Regions from separate parts of the Homo sapiens genome. Here regions 2 and 3 are each linked to region 1. Evidence: promoter capture Hi-C in 16 types of primary human blood cells and fetal thymus (Javierre and others, 2016). All regions are on one chromosome and are shown on one strand. The core of a region is centred on a gene start or on the middle of the fragment in contact, and the rest is flanking DNA. Distances in the headings are between cores, read along the strand shown. Region 1 holds the start of CFI (complement factor I). Region 2 has its middle 9.4 kb from the start of MCUB. Region 3 overlaps MCUB (mitochondrial calcium uniporter dominant negative subunit beta).

What was found. The method cuts DNA at HindIII sites, captures the fragments that hold promoters and counts their contacts. A CHiCAGO score of 5 or more calls a contact.
Region 2: a fragment that was not itself captured here is called in contact with the fragment with the promoter of CFI in region 1 in 2 of 17 cell types (naive B cells and total B cells); the score reaches 6.1 in naive B cells.
Region 3: a contact is called between a fragment that was not itself captured here and the fragment with the promoter of CFI in region 1, in 1 of 17 cell types (erythroblasts). The highest score is 5.7, in erythroblasts.

What each region holds. Positions count from the first base shown.
Region 1 is chr4:109,799,832-109,803,610 of GRCh38, forward strand. CFI (complement factor I) reads right to left here and starts at 2,168. Exons shown (of 13, transcript NM_000204.5): 1 at 2,084-2,168. The coding sequence starts at 2,140. The HindIII fragment of the contact is 11,045 bases long and covers 2,133-3,779 here.
Region 2 is chr4:109,548,931-109,552,709 of GRCh38, forward strand. No RefSeq gene overlaps it. Among named protein-coding and RNA genes, the nearest start is that of MCUB, 9.4 kb to the right of the region's middle. The HindIII fragment of the contact is 1,212 bases long and covers 1,530-2,741 here.
Region 3 is chr4:109,573,290-109,577,068 of GRCh38, forward strand. The region is part of intron 1 of MCUB (mitochondrial calcium uniporter dominant negative subunit beta); the gene reads left to right. Among named protein-coding and RNA genes, the nearest start is that of MCUB, 15 kb to the left of the region's middle. The HindIII fragment of the contact is 181 bases long and covers 1,982-2,162 here.

The DNA.
Region 1 (3,779 bases), core at 918-3,417:
TACTCAGATATCCTTCAAGACCACTGCCAAATTAGGGAGGGTATGGGGCAAGGACACAAAGGACAGACACGCAAAATGCTACTAAGCTTTCATACCATTTTTAGTTGCCTGTTCCTGCATTCAACATTTTCTTAGGTGCTATAAACCTTTGACTGTTTTCCAGAGTTCTAAATAAAGTTGGTTCTGACAGCTTCCCTTTGGTTTCTGTAGAAATGGATTTTTGGTTTTTGGTTTTGGTGGATCTGCCTACTCTGCCATTTCCGCTGCCATCACTTGCACTGCACACCCTCCTGTGTGCCACCCTTGTTTCCAGGATGTTGTCATTCTGCTTAACATTACCCCAGTTCTTTCTCTCTAAAATGCCACCCATATGTGCCTGAGTTTGTAATAAAATTTTAGGGTAAAATAAAATTTAGGGTATCAGTTGGTGATTACGTCACAGCACAATTATGGTAGGTAATCATGTTGACTGAAATATTTGGCTTCTCTGTTTTTTTTTTTTTTTTTTTTTTTTTTTTGAGACAGGATCTTGCTGTGTCACCCAGGCTGGAATACAGTGGCATGATCAGAGCTCCCCGCAGCCTCAAACTCCTGGGCTCAAGCAATCCTCTTGCCTCAGCCTCCCAAAGTACTGGGATTACATGCGTGAACCCCCACACCTAGTCAGCTTCCTTGTTGTTGAACATCCTCTGGTTATTCCCCCCATTAGAAGGCCCCAGCAGCCACTCCCACTGTGCTATGGGTTTCTTTTCCATCTTTTCTGAATCCCCTAGTTTCCTTGTCTGAGTAGGTTCAGTAAAACCGAAAACAGAAAATAGAATCACCAGTAATCTTATTAGCCAATGATAGCAACTATTAACTGTTTGATACATACACTGTAAGATCTTTTAGTCATATATATAAGTAGGTATAAGTATGCATTTATATATATGCATATAAACACACATACATATGTGTGTGTGTGTTTTTCTTCAATAAAAATAAAATTGTAGTAAGGACTTTTTATTTAGATAAATATGTCATTTCAATGGCTATGTAATAGTTCAATTTTGGATATACAATAATTTAACCAGTGTCTTATTAATAAGCATTTAGTTATTTCCATTTATTCTCTATTATAAACATTGCAATGATGGCAACTATTTTAGAAGTTACAAGAATCTTAAAGTGTGTTTTCTTAAGTAGTTTTCTTTAAATATTTTCTTCTACAAGCTGGCACTAAGACAAGATAGTTTTGGATTGCCACCAAAGTTGGCAATCATCAATAAGTATCCAAAATATTTTAAACATTTTTCACCTTAATAGATGACACTCTAACTTCAATAAAATATGTCATTTCAGTTTCGAGTTCCTTTGTAGCCCACAAAGCCTTCATTCTGATCAAATGGATTCATTTATTTGGAGGGGCCTAGTGCATTGCTGCCTTCCTATGGTAGCACTTGCTGCTTTTCCTGGCTAAAGAAGCTGGAAATCACTCCTCTTTCTCACCACTGATCACATGTAATACAGAATTAAACGTTCAGCTCAAATCCTACTTGATCTATAATCTCTTCATGACCTCTCAGCATGAAGTGATTTGTCCTCTCATTGAAGTCCTTTACCACATATTTGTATCACTTTTGACAATTAAATATATACTGTCTTGTAACTTGCACTTTTGTGTTTTCAGATGTTTCAAATTTGCTTATTATTTCCCCTTTCTATAACTATAGAGCGTACTAAGAGGCTGTTGAAGGAAGAGATCAGTCTCACTGTCTTCGTAGCACTGTACCTTACACACAGGAGGAGCCTGGTAAATATTTTTGATTTACTACAATTACAGTAAATCACAGCCTTGTATTAGTAAAATTCTTGTTCAGTTCAATGCCTCTGCATATATAAGCACATAAAAAGAACTATTTTTAAAAAATCACTTTTATCAAGATATTAACATAAAACATTTGTTGCTGACTATAGAGTGGCATTGTTGTAACTGAACTATGTAATATTTAAATCAAAATTATATATTTAAGATTATTTTCTATGTTTTTACAACCTTTAAATTATCAATTAAAATTGTTTGCATAAAGGTTGAATTACTTACCTTGCAAAACCTTAAGTGGAAGCACAGAAATAACAGGAAAACATGAAGAAGCTTCATGTTGGAGGTGTTCGGGGTCTTTGTCTCTGCTGAGAACTCTTTTCCACTCCAGGTATTCTTTTGAAATTTAATTTTTAACCTCTGAAAAAATGTTTCAAAAGAACAAACCTCCTAAAGAGCTTTGTACTTTTGAACTCTGAAAGAATTTGGCTGAAATCCAGAGAGATTTACCGTAACTGAAACCAAAAAATGGCCTTCCCATTAAAGAGCTGAGGGAGGTGACCAATAGGAACTTGTTTCCACCAGAAGAGACTGATTTCCTCCCACCCTGTTAATTGCAATGACTCAATTCTGTATTCCAGGGAAGACAGAAATTATATTGGAAGCAATTTTTTGGTTTTTTTTTTGTACAGTAAAAATATAATTTTTTAAACTTAAGGTTGAAGACTAGGAGACAGTAAGAATAAAAGTAGACCATATAGTGAAGGCTGCAAAATACATTTAAAACTCTAGAAACCAGCTTCTTTACCATGCATTTGTTGTGCTGTGATCAAATTGTATTTTTGGAGTACAAGAAATTTTAAAAACAAGTATTCTTGTGCCAGTACCAACTATCATGCAGGGTTTATCTATTTATGAAATAAATCTGTGATAGCAGAAATGCTGACACAGTTGGGTTCATCAGAAGCAGACTTGAGACAGTGAGTGTGGGGCACAAGTGTTTGTTAGGGATCGATATCCATACAAGGAAGGGAGGGGAAGCAGGGGTGAACAGAGGTAGAAGTTGAACTGGAGTGAGTGTGACCTGTCACAGTGCCCCTGATTTCAGTATAAATGGCTGGGCCATTATATTCTGCCTTGCTTGGTCCCCTACTATATATTGCCCAGGAAGGGCATACACTTAGGTGAGACAGTTTTCTGTAGCTAAGGCAGACACAGAAGGATCTGACAGTTATGTGCTATCAGGAGGAGGTATCTTCTGACTACACTCTTTACAGCCAGGTAGCAAGACCTTCCTTGACAAGGGTTCTGGGAAACTCATCTCTGTGTCTTTCAGAGTACATACTTGCACCTCTTAGATCTATGTTCCATATACACTCCAGGAGTGGCTCCTTAAACATTTCAGTGGGTCCCTATTCTTGAGAGAAAACTTAGAAGAGGAAGTTAATGGGAAAAACTACAGCTCCTACCCTTGCAGTTGATCTTGGGGCTGTAGTTGAAACTTACCCTTGGCCCCCTTCCTATCCATTTTAGATTCCCTTTACCTTGACCTCCCACCTCTGCTGGTCTCGGTGACTTACTGGATGACATGTCCCACACTCTCTTTCAGGAGTGGTCTGAGCCCCTGGTTACCTTTTGTTTCTCAGGCAAAAGTTGCCATTTTTATCCCTACTGTCACAAGAGGCAGGCTGGACATGGTGGCTCACTCCTGTAATCCCAGCACTTTGGGAGGTCAAGGCAGGAGGATTGCTTGAGGCCAGGAGTTTGAGATGAGCCTGGGCAACACAGGGAGAGGTTGAGGCTGCAGTTAGCCATGATTGCACCACTGCACTCTAGCCTAAGTGACAAAGAGAGACCCTCTCTTAAAAAAGAAACCAAAAAAAGCAAAAAATAAGAGGTACCCCAGTAGGTTATGTGGGTTCTACACATCTTCCTCCCTGCCCACATTATAGTAATAGCAGCCCTACTTCCTCGGAAT
Region 2 (3,779 bases), core at 886-3,385, 250 kb before region 1:
ACCTGGCAGAAAGGTGGAATGTTCTTCTGATGACTCAGTTATGGTGATGGTTGGAGTATCATCCTACAGGATACAGTATATGCTTTGAATAAGCAACCAACATTTTTCCCCTGTAGCCAGACACACAGGTCTAAGAATCAAGAATTGAAAGTGAAATCATTCCCTTAATATAGTCCCCAAATTTTAGGGTCTTAGTTTACAAAGGAGAGATGCTTAGTTCTCAAAGGGACACAGCAATGTTCCCACTGTATTGGAAGTTACGAGTATTACCTAGCCATTTTGGGTTCCTTTTGTCAACAACCAGAAGAAGAATCATCCTGATTATGAAGAGGAATTGATTTGCTGTGACATAATGGGGCAAGGAGGACTATATCGAAAATCTAGAGGATTTTTCCAGAGTGCCTCGTAATACTTCTATGTTCAGTACTAAAAGTTAAAGAAATATAGCAGCCTAATAAAAGAATGGATCACTAATGATTCAAACTCTTCAAAAGTAAGATTTGCATCTCCCACCAGGTAAAGAATGCCAACCAACCAACATTCCGTACTGTGCTGAAGGGAAATTAGAAGACAGTCTGAGAGGTATAGTGGGAATAAATTTGATAGTGAAAAAGAATTCAGTTCTAGCACTGGATCTGTCACATTATGTTAGACTGACTGTAATAGAAAGAATATGGGTTTGCAAGCCAAACAGAACAAAATTTGAATTATAGTTCCTCTGTTAGCTGTGTTACCTGGGGTAAGTTTCTAAACTTCTCTGAGCTTTCATATCCCTACTAGAGAATAATGGTTCCTTGGTAAGAGTTTTGTGAGAATTATATGGAACGAGTATGTAAAGTTTCTTGTGCAGCACCTTACTTGTAGTAAATACTTGATAAATGGCAGTCAATGTCTTAACAAAATAACAGCACAACAGTAATAATAGTAATAATACTCCCACATTGAGCCTGCCCTTTGCCCTCCTATCACTTTCCACCTTCACTGCAATTATTCCACACTGGACATGGAAAACCAAAATATTATCATGTGGGCTGCTGCTACCTCCACTTTTACTGTGATCGATGTATTAACTACACTTTTTTGCTTCAGACCATCCAGTACAGATGGGTATACAGAAAGAAGCAAGTAGTCTTAGTTCATTACATGTACATAACATCAGACTTCAAAACTCGATGCTCACCAGTAAGTCACAATTGTGGGTTTTTTTTTGTTTGTTTGTTTTTGCTATCAGGTTTATTCCAAAAAGACTTTCTCAGGCTTTTGACCTATCTCTTTATTACAATAGTGGTTATGACCTCTTAAGCCTCTGAGCCTGTAAACATGCTGTTCCTCCTGCTAAGAACTCATCTTTACTTTTTTATCTGGTTAGCTGCTCTTCCTCCTTCAGTTATTAGTGTGTACTGATGCCAGCCTGTCCCTTACCACTAGCTTAGGTGGGGTCTCCCTGCTGTATGTTCACATAGCCCTTGTAGTTTTACTCTTATAACCTTTATGTCACTCTACTTAATTACTTGTTCACTAGGTGAACAAGCTTCCCCACTAGGTTCTGTGTAAGGAAGAACACAGAACTCATCTTTAAAAAAAAAAGTTCTTAAGTGTCAATTTTTTAAATTTTTTTTTATTTCAATAGTTTTGTGGGGTACAGGTGGTTTTGGTTACATGGATAAGTCCTTCAGTGGTGATTTCTGTGATTTTGATGCACCCATCACCATTACCCAAGCAGTATACACTGTACCTAATATGTAGTCTTTCTTTCTTTTTTTTTTTTTTTTTGAGTTGGAGTCTTGCTCTGTCACCCAGGCTGGAGTGCAGTGGCCAATCTTGGCTCACTGCAACCTCTGCCTCCCAGATTCAAGCGATTCTCATGCCTCAGCCACCCGAGTAACTGCGACTACAGGCACACACGACCATGCCCGGCTAATTTTTGTATTTTTAGTAGAGATGGAGTTTTGCCATTTTGGCCAGGCTAGTCTTGAACTCCTGGCCTCAAGCGATCCATCCGCCCCGGCCTCCCAAAGTGCTGGGACTACAGGCATGAGCCACCGTGCCTGACCCCACTATGTAGTCTTTTATCCCTCACCCCCACCCAACCTTCCCCACACCTGAATCCCCAAAGTACATTATATCATTCTTACATCTTTGCATCCTCATAGCTTAGCCCCTGCTTATAAGCGAGAACATACTATATTTGGTTTTCCATTCTGGAGTTATTTCACTTAGAATAATGGCCCCCAGCTCCATCTAAGTTGCTACAAAGGACATTATTTTGTTTTTTATGGCTGAGTAGTATTTCATGGTGTGTGTATATATATATACACACCACATTTTCTTTATTTACTTGGGTGATGGGCATTCAGGTTTGTTCCATATTTTTGCAGTTGCAAATTGTGCTTCTGTAAACGTGTGTGCACGTGTCTTTTTCATATAATGAATTCTTTTCCTTCGAGTAGATACACAGTAGTGGGATTGGGATTGCTGGATTGAATGGTAGATCTACTTTTAATTCTTTAAGGAATCTTCATATTGTTTTCCATAGTGGTTGGACTAGTTTACATTAGCACCAGCAGTATAAAAGTGTTTTCTTTTCACCACATCTACACCAACATCTATTGTTTTTTCACTTCTTAATTATGGCTATTCTTGCAGGAGTAAGTTGGTATCTCATTGTGGTTTTAATTTGCATTTCCCTGATAATTAGTGATGTTGAGCATTTTTTGATATGTTTGTGGGCTGTTTGTATAAGCTTTTGAGAATTGTCTATTCACATCCTTTGCCCACTTTTTGATGGGATTATTTGTGTTTTTCTTGCTGATTTGTTTGAGTTCTTTGTAGATTCTGGATATTAGTCCTTTGACAAATACATAGTTTGTGAATATAGAAACTCATCGTTTTTATTCATCACTCTACCATCAGCCTAGAACAGTGTCTGGCAAATCCTCATGTACTACTAACCACAAGTTTGTGTGTTTCTATTATTTTTAAAAGTGGCTGTAGTTTTTTGGGGTTTGTTTTTTTGTTTGTTTGTTTTTTTTGAGACAGATTCTTGCTCTGTCACCCAGGCTGGAGTGCAATGGAGTGATCTCGGCTCACTGCAACCTCTGCCTCCCAGGTTCAAGAGATTCTCCTGTCTCAGCCTCCCGAGTAGCTGGGATTACAGGTGCACACCACCATGCCTGGCTAATTTTTTGTATTTTAGTATAGATGGGGTTTCACCATGTTGCCCAGGCTGGTCTCAAACTCCTGAGCTCAGGCAATCCACCCACCTCGGTCTCCCAAAGTGCTAGGATTATAGGCGTGAGCCACTGTGCCCAGCCTAAGGGCGGTTGTAGTTTTAAAGTCCTGTTTTATTATTGATCTATTAAATTTATTCAGCAGATATTTGAGAACCTACTACTTAGGTGCTGGTGATAGAGCAGTGAACAAAACAGACAAGGTCCCTTCTGTCATGGAGCTTACATTCCAGTTGGGGGAGACAGATTTTAAAAGTATGTAATATGTCAGGTAATGATTAAATGCTAAAGGGAAAAAAAAGCAGAGTAAGGGCTAACTGGCAGGAAGTAGAAGTTAATGCAACCAACCGCATCTCAGCTCACTGCAACCTCCGCCTGCTGGGTTCAAGCGATTCTCCTGCCTCAGTCTCCCGAGTACCTGGGATCACAGGTGACTGCCACCACGCCCAACTAATTTTTGTATTTTTTTAGTAGAGACGGGGTTTCACCATGTTGGCCAGGGTGGTCTCGAACTCCTGACCTCAGGTGATTCACCCGCGTCGGCCTCCC
Region 3 (3,779 bases), core at 822-3,321, 230 kb before region 1:
AAAATACAAAAAAATTAGCCACGCGTGGTGGTGGGCACCTGTAGTCCCCACTACTCGGGAGGCTGCGGCAGCAGAACCGCGTAAACCTGGGAGGTGGAGCTTGCAATGAGCGGAGATCGCGCCACCACACTCCAGCCTGAGCGACAGAGTGAGACTCCATCTCAAAAAAAAAAAAAAAGGAAGAGTGGTAGAAACAAAACCGATTTAGCAATGCTAGGAAAAGGTTGTTTCTCTTAATGGGGGAGAAAAGTATGTATAGGATGAGGGAGTCCTGGCTTGGTAGTTGTGTACAAAGGATCTGGAAGTTTCCGTTGATCCACTCATGAATGATGGATTCTAGAAGCTAGTATGGCTCCTAACTAATTGAAGAGAAATGCAGCATCTGATTACAGCAAGAAACAGTTCCATTTCATTACATTGGGATTGTCACATTGATTGTCAGACTGAGTCAAGGGCATTGTGTTTTGTTACTGGGGCAGTACTTTACAAAGAACACTAACAAAGCTGGACAGGGAGGTGCATTCAGAAGATGATTAAGATGGTGAGAGTTCTTGTAGGAGATGATTAAAAGGGTTGAATTTTTTTTTTTTTTTTTTTTTTTGAGACAGAGTTTCGCTCTGTTGCTCAGGCTGGATTGCAGTGGCGCAATCTCGGCTCACTGCAGCCTCCACTTCCCAGGTTCAAGCTATTCTCCTGCCTCAGCCTCCCAAGAAGCTAGGATTACAGGCGCGCCACCACCATGCCCGGCTAATTTTTGCGTTTTTAGTACAATCAGAGTTTTACCGTGTTGGCCAGACTGGTGTTGAACTCCTGGCTCTGCCTCCCAAAGTGCCAGGATTATAGGTGTCAGCCACTGTGCCCGACTGGGGCTGCATATTTTTAATCTAGTGAAAAAGAAGCTGAGGAAAAGCAAGATATTTGCATTCAAATATCTGAGATGGTATCATGTGAAAGAAGGTTGTCATTCTGTGTTGCTTCCAAGCAAGGAAATTACTCCCAAGATAGAGCAGAATAGGTAGGCAGAGTTCAGCTCAGTTCAAGAAAATTTTTGTATCCATTCTGGCTGTTCCCTAATAGACTGCTTCTTGAAGTGTAGGACTCCCAAGTTTCTAAAATAACTCAGGCAGAAGCTAAAGAAGCACTGGAAAAACTGCCAACACAGCTAGAGCCTGGTGCTGGAGAAGCCATCTATATCTATGCAATAGGAGCCTGTGAAGTGAACACACCCGAACCAGGAAGCAAAATCTTTTCCTCCGTCAGTGGCTCTCTAGTGTCCTCTACTGAAAAAACTTCAGTGCCAGTCAGCAAAGGAAAAATATTTAAAGGTCCCAGATCTATTTTCACAGAGCAGTCAAAAAGGGAGAATTTGAGGGCATATACAAGACGTTAATAACCATCATATGAGGAATGAGACAGCAGCTGTTGTGCAGTACTTGAAGGTGGCAGCTGCACTCATGAGCACTGCCACGCTGGTCAGGCCAAGGAGGGATGGGAGACAGAGCCGGACTGGTCAAGCACTGATAACGAAGTGCTCATTTTAAATACAGTGTTAGTGCCTAGAATAGAAATCAGGGAAGCAGCACTTGTTCCAGGGACAGAGAATCCAACCCAGAGATGGATTGGGTAAGACAGAGATCCAAAAAAAGTATGAGACTTAACAATTGCATGAGAAGTTAGACTGAGTAGAAAGAAAGATGGGTAGATTATTGAGAAGCCAAAAAGTTAGCTTAAATAGGAGCATTTGAGACCCAGGGCTGCCGCAGGTCAGAATGGAAGCTGAGGTGATCTTAATCTCTACGCTTCCTTTCATCGCTGATGTTCTCTGAGGTCCCTTGGGTACCCAGCTTTGATATCTATCACAATGTCAGAAACCACTGAGGTTTGGAGATTGATAAACTCAGATGCCTTGCTAAAATTAGCCTACTGCTGTTCATCCCTTGTTCTGCCCGCTCCTTACCATCTGCCTTCCCCACCAAGGAAAAGCTTTGGCTTATTTATAGTGTAATAACTATTTAGTGAGAGTAATTTTGTTTTAGCTTTTTATTGATATGATATTATTAATCTTTCTGTAAAAGGTCATTGGGGGTTAGACTGTTTGTTGTGAGGTTTTGCCTGAAACCAACTCAAGTGTACTACTCATAACTGTTGTTCATTTGAGCTTAAGCTTGGCTGCTGTACTGACAGGTTATAGTCCATCTTGACATATGAAATTCACTTTATAACGAATCCAGCCACATTCGTTTAATTAGTTTATTCAATTTAGTGGGATTGTGCTGCCATTTAATTAGTGGAGTCTGAATTTGTGCCAGTGACTAAGCATCGTAATCAACAGTTGTTATGCCTGCAATTATGTGAAAACTGACACCAAAGTCTAACCTCTCTTGGAGAGAAAATATACCACCTTAATGTATCTTTCACACTAAATTAGGATGAAATATCTTTATAGTTATCCCATTTATGTAAGGCTATTAGACATTAGAAAAAGGTCATTTCATAAGTATAGCAGTGACCATTAAAATTATTAATATTATAATAGCATAGTAATATTCTTGGTTTTGAAACTTTAGAACAGCTTTGTAGTCTGTGCTAGTCACACTGCTTTCCTGGGAACCTTTTCACTCTTATCTACCTGGTTTAGTCGAATTGGCCATCTTAGTCCAACCTGACCTTCATTCAATTGGCCACCTGACCCAGGAATTTAGAACTAAGTCTAGGATTCTCACCTCTGCTGGCTGCTCTTTTGAATAGTGGAGTTGTACTTGGGGCCATTTGGTGGTGACCATTTTCTACCATGTGGACCAAGAAGCAGTAACAATTCATTTTATAGTGATAAGCAGAATGATGCTGACAGGCAGATAGGAGGAGACGAAATACGGATCAAGAGGACTTCCCAACCTCAATATAACACTCCAGTTCCTGATCCTGAGTCCATTCCTGAGGCTTAATTAAATCCTTCTATGTAGTCTCCGTTAGAGACATTCCTAAGTCCTCAGAGTAAATTTCCATTCTTACTTATGGTAAGTCAAGTAGGTATTTGTTTCTTTCATCCAAATAACAAATATATATGAAGTGATCATTCAAACTTATCAGAAAAACATTAAGAAATGGGTAAAAGACATGAGTGGTTTTCAGAACAGGGAATAAAAATGCAAATAAACATGAAAAGTGGTCAGCCTCACTGATAGTCAAAAAAATGCAAAAACAATAGTAGAAAAAGATAACATTTGCCTTTTTTTTTTTTTTTTTGCCTGTCAAATTGCCAAAGAAAAACAAAAAACTCAAAGCGTAAAGCATGGCATGATGTGGGAACTCTTTTGTGTTGCTAGTGAGAGTGTAAAGTGATTGTATAATTCATGGTCCAACAGGAAACAGATGGCCCACTTAGATTAGGATAATTAGAGGGAAGTTTATACACAAAGGATGATTCACAGAGATGTGGGCGCAGGGGAACCACTAGGGATGGTGTACTAACCTTGGACTACTATTGATGGGCAAGATGAAGGGGTTGTGGACAACAACCCTGTGTCAAGGGCCAAGCCAGATACTCAGAAATTCTTTCTTTTCTTTCTTGTTTTTTTTTGAGATGGAGTCTCACTTTGTTGCCCAGGCTGGAGTGCAGTGGCGCAATCTCGCCTCACTGCAGCCTCTGCCTCCCAGGTTCAAGTGATCCTCCCACCTCAGCCTCCTGAGTAGATGGGATTACAAGCATGTGCCACCACGCCCAGCTAATTTTTGTATTTTTAGTAGAGCCAGGGTTTCGCCATGTGGGCCAGGCTGGT